Linked DNA regions of Homo sapiens: region 2 is linked to region 1. The links are contacts of gene promoters, found by promoter capture Hi-C in blood cells and fetal thymus (Javierre and others, 2016). All regions are on one chromosome and are shown on one strand. The core of a region is centred on a gene start or on the middle of the fragment in contact, and the rest is flanking DNA. Distances in the headings are between cores, read along the strand shown.

Region 1 (6,095 bases), core at 2,671-5,170:
ATTTTCTCCTCAGTGGAATTACAGGCTGAGGAGTCCACATTGGCTTTCCAAACAAAGAGTGGCAAATTGCTAACTACAAAATCAATTTTTTTTCGAGTGTATTAGCTGTCCCCTCATTATTCTCCACCCCATGAAAGAATTAATGAGAGCCTGAGCCACAAGTGAATGAGGGCTTTTTAGCTTGGGAACACACACTGAATGGCGCCAGGCGTGGGACAATTACAGAAGATATTCAATAGGGGGAAAGGCTGACAAATGCCACATGAAAGCTGAAATTCAAACCTCCAAGGCTTCAGCCCCAGGTCTGGGCCCTTGAGATGACACATAGAGGCAGGATCAGCAGTGCAAGACACCATGTCATGGCAGGACCTGCAGTCTCCCAAAAGAGCCATTCACCCACCTGCAGAGGGAAGACCACACCTGGAGTCCAGGAGAAAGGAATGCCGATGCCAGTCATTCGGTTTGTAGGATTCCTCCCAGGGGAGAGAGGGCTGCTGGTAGTTGCAATCTTATCTGCGAGGTTGTGCTAAACTCACAGGAATTGGTAAATCCAGGAACACTGAGTTATTCAAATACTAGCCAAGAGTTCTTAAAACCTGAGGGGGCAATGGCTCTGATAGATGGATTCCTTAAGATAGCCAGAAAGACCATTGAATGGAAAAAGGAATGAGCAGAGGCGATGGTGGAATATTCAGAAACTGGATATTTTCATCTTCATTCCTTGTCTTAGTCACTGTTGTATCTCCAGTGCCCACAACAACACCTGGCACATATGAGGCACTCAATAAATATTTGTTAAATTAATGCATGCATAAAACCCAACTTCCAGGAAACTCTTTGCTACTGTGCCCCAAGCCAATCCTTGTGAGAACTCCCCAAAAGTCCAAGGACAACCGCCCCCGACCCCGTGAGGATGTACCAAATGTCCTACATCTAAATGTCCCAGCATCCTTTTGGATGAATGCTACCAAGTGCACTTGAAGAGACCTGGACCACCCTTGCCCCATTCTATTGAAGATAGAAGTGAGTTTCCTGTTTCATTTCCAGACTCACTCTCAGCCTCGCCCTGGACAGTGGGTACCATCTCCATCCATCAACCAAAAGCACACAAAGAAGAAACAGCTGAGAGTCCAAGAGGGCCTCAGTCTAGGAGACTTGGTCGTGCCTCTGCCAGTGTCAGCAGTCAGGCTGGATTCCTCAGCCCTGGCATTAATTGTAGCCCCTGTGCTATGATTACAAAATGGAATTAAATGACATGCCAAATTAAAGAGTTATTTTTTCTAATATATATTTTGCATAGGATGTGTTTGTAACAGCATTAATTATTTACACTGCCACAGAGAGAAAGCATAAATATAAAGAGAGAGATCAGATGGTTCCTGTAGGAGAAATAAAATGAGCATTTCCATCAGGATGATGAATACCTGCGGTCTCACTTTGGGGCTGGGCCTAGGGGGAGGTGGAGAGAGGGGGACATCTTGAGAACAAATCTGACAAGCGTTATCGAGGTTTTTGAGGAAGGAATATGTTAAAAATGAAAGTGAGTACAGAAAGTTTAAATATTTAATACCTGCATTAATTCTAATTCACACTTTCTTTATTTTTCAGATTAAAAATTTACAAGAATTCCCATCTCTTTCATCCTTCTTCCTCCCATGAGACACTTTGTGGTCACTGTTCCAGGGACCACCTTTGGCAGCATCTAGGTAAAAAGGGGCATGAGAACAGCAGCCCCCCTGCCCTCCACCCCACCCCCATGGCACCCTCCCGCCATGGGCATCTCCCCCAACTCCCCTATGAGAAGCCATTGCTGTCGGGCTGCTGGCGCCAGAATGACTAATGGGACCAAAGCCATTTCCTGGCCTCCTCAGCCCCCACCCCAGAAAGGGTCACGGAATTCTCAGAGATGATGCAGCCAACTTGTGGGTTTAAAGTGCTTGTCCGAGCCCAGATCTCACAGGCACAGGCAGAATACCACCACTGAACTGATGTCTTCTTGAAACAAGAGACTTCTGTCCCACACAGCCCCAGGCCCCCCTGCCCTTCAGAAGCTTTTATTCTAAGGCCAACCAGACCAGCTTTATATGCTTTCAATAATATCACTGAAAGCCAGCATTGATTGACTTGGAAGCAAGGGAGAGCTAACTTCCCGAAGTCACCAACACCAGCTCCCAGCTTCAGCCCTGCCCCAACCCCAGCATTAAGCAGGTGAGCAAACTGCTCTCCTACTAAGAACAGCTTATACATCTGAATTCCCTTACAAAGCACTTTCCCATGCCACGTTTGACCCCAGAGTCCTGTGAAGCGGTCAAGGAGCTGTTATCAGCCTTCATTTTATACAGGAGAACACCCAGGTCATGTGACAGACCTAAGGTCTCCCCATTTAATTAAAATGTTTCCACTGTTACAATGCAGCTTCTACAGCACGCGGTTCCCAAAATACTGCATGTGAAAGGGGAAGGGAACATTGGGTTGAGAGATGCTTTTAACCCCACTCCCTGGTTTCCAAGTGACCTGTCTGCGTTGGGGGCCGACGTTTTCCGAGATGAGAGCAGGGAGGGGCAGGTGGGCCAAAGGACTGCATCTGCTCCCATGAGGGCCCGCTGTGTCCTTGCTCCTGTTTTCCCTGAGATTCTCAGTGACCTCAGGCCAGAGACCCTCAGAGGAGAGTTGTTGGCAAAGTTTTCTCAAAGCCCCAACATTTCTGTGACTCCCTGAGTTTTAAGTTGTCAGATACTGTGGCATTTTCCCCCTTCTTCTCACACCCTACCATCCTCCCATCACTTGCCACAAATTCCTGCACAAAACACCTTCCTAAACAGTGTTGATGAGCGCCTTGTTCTCATCAGGCCTCTGATCGAAGACAATTCCCTGACTCCATTCCTACTCTTCCTCACAGATCTATCAACCCAAAAAGTGCCTATAAATCAGCAGAGAAAACACACACACACACATGCACACACACACGCGCACACATGCACAACACATGCACACACACACGTGCATACACACACACACAGGCTTCCTCCATCAGAAAGATGAGCAGGAAATCTCACCTGTGGTAGAAATCTGAGCTATCAGTCTGGCGCTGGGAGATGTTTGGGGTTGTTTGTTGTTTTTACTTCCAGATACCTGCTGGAGTCAGGCCATCCCTTTAAACGAGAAGAGCGGAGCTAGAAAGCACCCCAGCTTAAGGCCTGGAGAGCAGAATCCCTCTAAGCAGTAGCTTCTTCCTCTCCCTCACATAATTCCACAGCCTCTTACTGAAAGGGCAAGGAAAGAGATGGCCCAGCCAGGCAGAGGGAACACCTGAATGAGCTCAGGAGGAGAGGCTGCCATGATAGCTCCTCCCTCTACAAGCCTTCAGGACAAGCACATCCTTCCTGACCCTTCCATTCACTCCAGATACGAGCACTATCCCGGGACAGGACTTAGATCCACGTGGGTACGGGAACACACACATGAGCACAAGGGGAGGAGTTTGGTAGAACTGTCGTTCCAGCTTGACCAAACGTCTACCTATGCTTCCCAACCTCACAGGTTGTGAAATTTTCAAATGATGGAGGGAGGAAAGGACATAGCAGAAGAGAAGGTGAGTTAGCCAAATGGAGATACCGATCAGGGTCCGTGCTTTGGCTGGTGACGGAAACAGACAATGATAGCAAGGACAAAACCCCTCCCTCTCATGGCCTCTAAACAGCCTCTGTCTCAGAGAAATCAAAAGGGAGATTTTTCCACAGAAAAATCAAAAGGGAGATATAGTGCTTGCCGAAGGCACATTCCTAAGGCCCTAGCACAACGTGGAGCGCATGATAGGCATGCTTGTTCTTTCTCCTCATTTCCCCCTGTTCTTTCCTCATTTCCTTGTGCTAAGTAAAATGACTTTAGAACCTGGGTGGGAAGTAGGGAAGAAGCCGTGAGTCCCGTCCTGACCTCCAGACCTTGCATGTGGATTGGTTTTGCTGCTGTAAGGAAAGGGCTCAAGGACAGCAGCTCAGCATCCTGTGGCTGCACACGCAGAGTGAGAGGGACATGGTGGCAGGGCCTATCGAGGGTCTGCGTGGCCAGGAACGAGGAGGTAAGGAGAAAACGTTCTCCCTTCTTACTGGGAGGAGCTCTTTGCAAACTGAAATGAGATTGTCTTACTGCAGAAGCCTACTTTTATTTTTAAAAAGTTATTTTCACAAAAATTAATACCCCCTTCCTGCCTCCACACATCCATAATCCCACCCCTTCAGAAAAGCAGGGCTGTCTTCCAGCCTCTGTCTCGCAGGCATTTTACTAGTGGGGAGGATGAAAGGTTCAAGAATCAAGGACATCACACTGGCTAAATGCCCCCAAAAGTCAGTGTAACATCTCCCATCTCAGAGGCATCTTCTTGGAAATGAAGCAAAGCAGGAAGGCAAAGGACTGGGGGTGACTGGCCGTGTGACCTTGGGCAAGTGACTTAACTTGTCTGAGCCTCAGTTTTCTCTCTCCTAAAATCAGAGAAATCTTACCACTGACGGGGGAGGAGGTGGTGAATTCCTCTCTGCTCGTGCTTTCTGAGCTACTCTTCCAAGCCAGCCATTGTCACATTTATCATATCATTCAACTCTGATGAGAACCCAGTGAGAAAGGAACTATTCCTTTCTTTGAGAAATTTGGTAAGTGTGCATAGGGGTGAAGTGACCTGCCTCGGGGCAGAGACCTGGCCAGTTATGGAGCTGGGGGCCCAGGTTTCCTCCATGGCTGACACGCTTTCCACCACACCACAGCTGTCTCCTGATGGGCGGGTGTCATGCACACTCAGGGCCTTTGGGAAGTTTGAGGGTTGCGGAATGTGAGGTGTGACTACTCTGAGAGTTTAGACGGTGAGGAGAGGAACGCCTATTCCTCTTTAAGCTCCCCCCTTCAGGATCCTCCTGATGAGATCCTTGGTGGCCAGAATTTTCTTCTCTCCTTGCTCTAGAGCCCTTACCCAACCCTGTGAAGCAGAAAAGCCACAGATGACCCGCAACCCTCTGGGGACCATTGGGGTGGGGGCTGAGCTGAGGGGCTTAGACCCCTCAGAAACCCGGGTGACAGCCCCGCACTGCCCCTGCCTCTGTTCAGGCTCTCTGAAGGTCTGGGATGGAGAAAACCCAAGCACAACTGAGCAGCCAGCAGGGTGAGGCGGCAGCAGAGGCCATGGGGCAGAGAACAGTGTCAGGGATGCGTCCACTGAAGGAGGAGTGGGTCAGGTGTGTGGCAGGAATTGGCGTGAGCATCCTGGGTGCTGAAGAGGAACCTCGGAGAGAGAAGGGCCTTGGAACCTCTTGCAGAGGCCGGTGTTTGCCAGGGAGGTTTGTTCATTGAATCGGAAATCAGCTTGCCTTGGTCATACATGTTTAGGAAGCCCTAAGTTAAAGTCTTTAAACTTGTAATGAGCCCTGTAACTTTTTTTTTTTTTGAGACAGAGTCTCGCTCTGTTGCTCAGGGTGGAGTACAATGGTGCGATCTCGGCCCACTGCAAGCTCCACTTCCTGGGTTCACGGCAATCTCCTGCCTCAGCCTTCCGAGTAGCTGGGACTACAGGCGCCCACCATCACGCCTGGCTAATTTTTGTATTTTTAGTAGAGATGGGGTTTCACCGTGTTAGCCAGGATGGTCTCAATCTTCTGACCTCGTGATCTGCCCGCCTTCGCCTCCCAGAGTGCTGGGATTACAGGCTTGAGCCACCATGCCCGGCCATAAGCCCTGTAACTGTTTTAAGACAAGGTGTTCACACAGGCTTTCCCAAGCTGGCTTAGCTTTGGAACTTTCTTTACGCCCCCAGAGCCCACTCTGGGAAGTGCTTACCTAGAGCAGTCCTCCCATTTCACAGATGGGGCCAGGGGAGGATGGGAACCCGTGCAGCTTCTAAAATCGGCCGCCTTCTCGAGTCCCCCACATCCCTAGGGGGCTTAGAACTACTCCACACCTGTTCCCAGGGCTTAGAGAAATTGTGTCTGGCTGCAGCTGTGATGTGTGGAAGAAAGGACATCTGTCTCCTCCTTTTCAGGGGATGGGGGTAAAAGGAATGGGGGGTGGGGAAGGGAGAACTAGGCCCCTTGAAAGTGAGGAATAATTTCACA
Region 2 (6,095 bases), core at 2,113-4,612, 310 kb after region 1:
GCATTCTTCAGTAGTTCATGTCCTTTTAAAAAAAAAAGTGTGGGGGTATTATAAAAACTTTAAAAAATCTTGTGACATTTAAGGTTTTTCATAACCTGATTTCCTCCTCCTTATCCAACCCCATTTTTGGTTATTCTCCATTATAAACTACCAATTAGAAAGGTTCCATTACTTATTCCCAAATACACCTGGCTCATTGGAGATTCTAGGCTTTTTTTTTGTTTGGGTGGTTTTTAAGAAAAAATTATCTCGGCCAGGTGTGGTGGCTCACACCTGTAATCCCAGCACTTTGGGAGGCCAAGGCAGGCGGATCCCTTGAGCTCAGGAATTTGATACCAGCCTGGCCAACATGGTGAAACCCCATCTCTACTAAAAATACAAAAATTAGCCAGTCATGGTGGCAGGCACCTACCCCAGCTACTCAGGAGGCTGAGGCAGGAGAATCAGGAGATTCTCTTGAACTCAGGAGGAGGAGGTTGCAGTGAGCCAGGACTGCACCACTGCACTACAGCATGGGCAACAGAGTGAGACTCCGTCTCTAAGAAAAACAAATTCTCTTGAATTTACCAATACAAAATGTGTAGTTCAAGTCTATCTCTCCCATGAATTCTTCCCCTACTGTTTCCTTAAAAATTTCTGAACTCCCATAGCACAACTTTATTGCAAAACACAGAAAATCTCTCTATATTATTATCTGATACAATGAGTGGTCTATTAGTTTTGTATTTCTACCTGAAAATATAAACCCATGGAAGGTCCTATTTTACATTTCCTTAGTATCGCTACAATCCATAACAAACAGCATAGGCAAATACTGCTGACTGATGAGTTCTATTTTTGTATTAAACAGATGAAGTAAAATCCTCACTACAGTGGGACTAACAGCTACAAGCACCACGAAAGCAAGGACTGTGTCTGTCTTAAGTCAATGTTCTATTCCTTGTACTTTATGCAGTGCCTGGCTCAATAAATATTTGCTAAACAAATAAAAATGATTATTACAAACTGAACAATGACAAGAAAGAGTCAAATAGTTGTGGACAAAGAAAAAAATTTTAATAGTAGTTCAACATGATAATGTGTGCTTCTAAACTTTTCCTATTTATACTAATAGCACAATTAAATTTTGACCAAGTATGTTAAGCAGTAATACAGCTTTTATTTTCACATACTCATAATTTTCCATATTTTCTCTCTTCCTCTCATTATTTCTAGTAATACATTTTAAATAAGATGAAGAACAATTACTGAAGCAGAGTTGAAGACTGTATCAACTGGACAAAAGCTCAGGTATACTAAGGTGGGGGCTAAATGGACAGAGTCAAGCAATGTGAATGGATGAAATCTACTCACAGTGGTTAATTTTTAAATATTAGGTATATAAAATGAGTCATTAAATAAAAATTACATTTTTCCAAAAACTCTGGATATGTTACGAATTTACTATGTATTATTCTTTAACCTACAACTATAGATTCATTTATTGTGATAATCAGATTAAAAAACAAAAATAAGAAAAATGAGACAAAGATAAATAATAAATGAAATGCCACCTATGTATACTGAACTTCTTTGCAACGAAGGTAAGAATTATTTCTCTCTGTAAATTACAAACTAATAGTAGCTTGCCTAGAATATAATTTCAATATAACTTGGAAAATCCATGTTCTTGACCTAAAGTGCTTTCTAATAGGTTTTGAATTCTAGCACTTTGGCACTTTTCTTTTTTTTTTTTTTTTTTTTTTTTTTTTTTGAGACGGAGTCTCGCTGTCGCCCAGGCTGGAGTGCAGTGGCGCAATCTCGGCTCACTGCAGGCTCCGCGGCACTTTTCTTTAGATAATTTTAGAGTATCTTACCAAACACAAATGAATTTAAATTTAAAATTTTTAAAAAGCATTATCCCACTATTCCCCACTTTACAAAGCTAAAAAAAAAAAAAAAGGGGGATGATTATCAAAAGTGAAGCTGAGTGTGATAACTCTTAATCCCTACCTCATACCCTAGATGTCATATTTATAGTTTAGGGGATAGGGAAAATATCATAGACATAAAATAAAAAGAACAGGTACTTACAGCCTGGGCTTGTTGTTGGAATAATTCGTTCTGATTCTCTTCATCCTCTATTCCATCCCCAGGCATCAGGGAAGGAGGTAACCTAGAACTTCCAATAGCAACATTCAAATTGTTTGGAAAAACACTTGTCCTTTTGGAAGTTAAGTGTGTTGCTGAAGACTGCATGGCTATGGAGCCTTCTTTTTGTGCCTACACGAAAGAAGAAAGGGGGATAGTAACATTCTACCCCAATCCAGAGCAATCAAATAATGCCTCTAAAGCAGTTCAGAAGATTTTAAATTGGGGTGGGGGGCAGGGGAGAGGCTTTAGCTGGCAGAGAAACTAACATTTACCAGGCACCTCCCATGTGCTAATAATTTAGGTTATCTCATCTAACTCTCACACAATCCTATGAGAGAAGTATCATATCCTTATTTTATGGATGAAGAAACTACAATCAGTGAAGTTAAGTAATTAGCCAAAAGTCAATAGCTAGAAGTAGCAAAGCCAAAATTCAAACTCAAGTCTGAACCCAAAATTCTGACATTGCTTTTAACTACTTGGTAAAAGCAAAAAATTGAGTCAGAACACAGGAATAAAACATGGTTTCTCTACAAAAAAAATTTACTGTCTTCACTAGTTAATTAGATTATATTAGGCATGTAATCAAAGGAAAGCAATTCTGTTACTGCCTAATAGCTTATCTCATAACACACATATTTTCCATTCAATCTTTACTCAGGCTCACTTTTGAACTTACTCTTTCATAAGACTTCTGAAGCTGTTGCTTTTTTCTCAACCTAATTTGTTGATTTACTCGGTATTTAACTTGTTTCTGAAAATGTTTCAAAGCTTCTTGTTTTTTTCTTAGCTGTTCCTTTAGTTCTTCTTCAATTAAATATGCTGATGTCTTTAAAGATGAAAGACAGAAAATGAACTTAAATGTTAGCAGTTTTGTCCATTAGGGCTGTTTTAAACACAAAACAGTCAGGATAAGGATACAATCCTGAAAAAAATAATTCCATTCTGTACAAAAAAAAATGGAATGTATGAGTATCAAATCTTAAATTTTTTATTGAATTAGAACTAACGATGTCTTCATTAAATCTTAATGAACCAAATAAAACCTAACACGTTACACATTTTCTAAAATGGAGTAAATAGTCAAGACACACCAGGTTACTTACCACTCACCAAATATGTCCTATTGTTAAAATGTCTTCATATTTGGCATTATGCTCCATTTTTAACCTGGCATGCCCTTCCTTTCATCTCCACCTAGTAAAGGCCTATTCAGTTTTCACAACCATTTAATACCCACTCCCCAGTACCTTCCACAACACTCTCTCTCTAAGCCCTCTTATGCTATAACACCTCTCATTTCACCAATGTTAACTGAGTATAGTACTTCTTGACTCCCCTACTAGATTATGAACTCTTTGAGGACAGGATATGTATTCAATTCTCCTTTATTTCCCCTACGGCATCTAGTACAGAGCCTTCACTATAAGGGTAGTCAATATATATTTATATAATTGCTCAATTCCAAAACATATTCTAAACCAGGGGTGTCCAATATTTTGGCTTCCCTGGGCCATGTTGGAAGAACTGTCACATAAAATACATTAACACTAGTAGCTGATGAGAAAAAAAAAAATCACAAAAAAACTCATAGTGTTAATTAAGAAAATTTATTAATTTACATTGGGTCGCATTCAAAGCCATCCTGGGCCACATGTGGCCCATGGCCGCATGTTGGACAAGCTTGTTCTGAACAATCTGGAACACTTTATCCCATTTGAGTTCTTGATCTGCATTTATCTCCTCTAAGTGCTTTGAATAATAATCATAGTCATCATCATAACAGCACTTATCATTATTATGGATCTATCAGGTGACAAGTATTTTAACTACTTTGTAGCACTCTATCCTCAAAACCACCTTTGGCAGTAGGTATTCTTATCCCTTATGTTACAGATGAGGAAGCTGGAGTTCAGAAAGATTAAGTAATTTTAATATAGCTAACTAGTAGCAGAATTAGAAGTTTCTGACTCCAACAATTATGTTCCTCTCTACACTGCTTTTCTCTTGACTATGTCTCTCTTTCACTAGGAATTTTCAAATTAAATAAAATCATCATCATATCTCGTACCTATTCCTTCTAACTCAGTGATTCCAACTTCTAATTCTGAAGGGTACCTCAGATCATTTTACAGGCTGTCATTAAATTCTCAAAATCAAATGCATTCAAATTTCAATTTAAGTTAAAATTTCCAAGATGTCTATCCCATAAACTACTCTAGTGGAGTGTACAAGTGTCAAAGAACAATTAGGTAAAATAATTCCAACGGAGAGATATATACGTAATGAAGCCTGAACAACTGACCCAGCTTAACTCAAGCCCCAGACAAGTTTAAGCCATTCGGCCTCTTTCTTTTACCTCCATTTTCTCTGCTCCTCTTTTACTCCACAAGATTACAAGCCAGGTCATAAAGAAACTTCCACCTCTGTTCTTAGAGTGCTCATTCTGAAGGAAGTCAGCACCATATAAAAATTCAGACTACCCTGAGATTACCATGCTGTGAGGAAGCCCAAGTTAGTCAAACAGAGAAGCCATGTGAAAAGAGAAACATATCTAACCAGCACCCAGACATTCTAGTCATCCTAGGCCAAGCGTCAGATATGTGAATAAGAAAGCCATCTTGGACATTACAGCCCAGCAGGTGCCACATTACTGGGAGAACTTGACTATTGTCTAGCTCCAGCCAATAGCCGGAAAATAGTCAAGGTGTCTCAGACATGTCCAGTTATTTGAGCCCCAGCTGAGGTCCCAGACACTATGGGGCAGAAACAAGCCATTACCACTGTACCCTGCTCAAATTCCTGTTACATAGTATTATTTGCTTTATACCACTAAGTTCTGGGGTGGTTGGTTACACAGCAAAAGGTAACCAGAACAAATTATAAAATAATGCAATCCCATATATGATGATAGAACAGCAGTGTCTTTTGATGCTAATTTATTAATAATTATTGGGGGGAGGTAGTCTAAAGCTATGACATTTTTAGGAATCCTGATGGCCCCCTGAAATTTTGGGGAGAAAAATGAGTAGAAGTTCCCCTTTAGAACAGACATGATCTAAGGGCCAAGCTTTAGAAGTAACTATTCAGCATTTATTTTGAGCTGACAGAGCTATATCCGTTAATAAGGGTGGATACCCAGACTAGATATGCTAAAGCTATAAGGAGTTCTATTAGATGCTTGATCAAACTCCCTTTGGCTGGAACTGATCAGAAATTTTTAAATCAGGAAAAGGAGATATGTTTATCCATGTTCCAAGACTTTAATATTTTGAGTTAATGTGTGTGAATACGATAGTCAATACTTCTTAACATAGAAAAAGTTTGATGGTGTCAAATTTTAGGCATGTTGACACTACTGATATTATACAGATGTAATTTGAGCAATTACAAAGAGGTGTCAACAACTTAAATACCAAAATATCTTTATACCAAATCTTACCAAGTCTTGTGGGGTGTTTCCTGCATTCATCCCTTCTCATTCCACTCCTTTTTTTTTTCCAGAGATGGGGTCTCACTCTATTGCCCAGGCTAGAGTGCAGTAGTATGATCATAGTTCACTGCAGCCTACAATTCGTGGGCTCAAGCACTTCAATCATCCTTTTTCAAGGCTGTTCTTCTCTATTTCTTACCACTAACAAAGTTTCGATGCTATACTCCATGCTTAAATTATTATAATTATATTCTAATTTATCCCCAGGATCCAATCACTCCCTATCCTTCAAAACCTTTGAAGCAATTCATCTAAAGAAAACACTGGTTGATCATGACATTCACCTGTAAATATTAAACAAAGTCAATCCCTTCTCCAAAATTTCCTAAGGTACTCTACCATCCCTATTTTCCATAATCCTGTCAGCAACCATTCTCCTACTAAGCTTTCCACTCCAATCGATCTAATCTACCCTTAGAATCCTGAACCTTGCTTACTTCTTACTCTCCTCATTCTCCTTAATAGGAGA

The links. The method cuts DNA at HindIII sites, captures the fragments that hold promoters and counts their contacts. A CHiCAGO score of 5 or more calls a contact.
Region 2: a fragment that was not itself captured here is called in contact with the fragment with the promoter of PKNOX2-AS1 in region 1 in 1 of 17 cell types (endothelial precursors); the score reaches 5.4 in endothelial precursors.

What each region holds. Positions count from the first base shown.
Region 1 is chr11:125,264,623-125,270,717 of GRCh38, reverse strand. PKNOX2-AS1 (PKNOX2 antisense RNA 1) reads left to right here and starts at 3,920. Exons shown (of 2, transcript NR_187382.1): 1 at 3,920-4,078. The region is part of intron 2 of PKNOX2 (PBX/knotted 1 homeobox 2); the gene reads right to left. The HindIII fragment of the contact is 10,539 bases long and covers 2,054-6,095 here.
Region 2 is chr11:124,955,982-124,962,076 of GRCh38, reverse strand. It overlaps CCDC15 (coiled-coil domain containing 15), which reads right to left. Exons shown (of 16, transcript NM_025004.3): 3 at 2,813-2,962; 4 at 2,074-2,262. Among named protein-coding and RNA genes, the nearest start is that of CCDC15, 4.8 kb to the right of the region's middle. The HindIII fragment of the contact is 912 bases long and covers 2,907-3,818 here.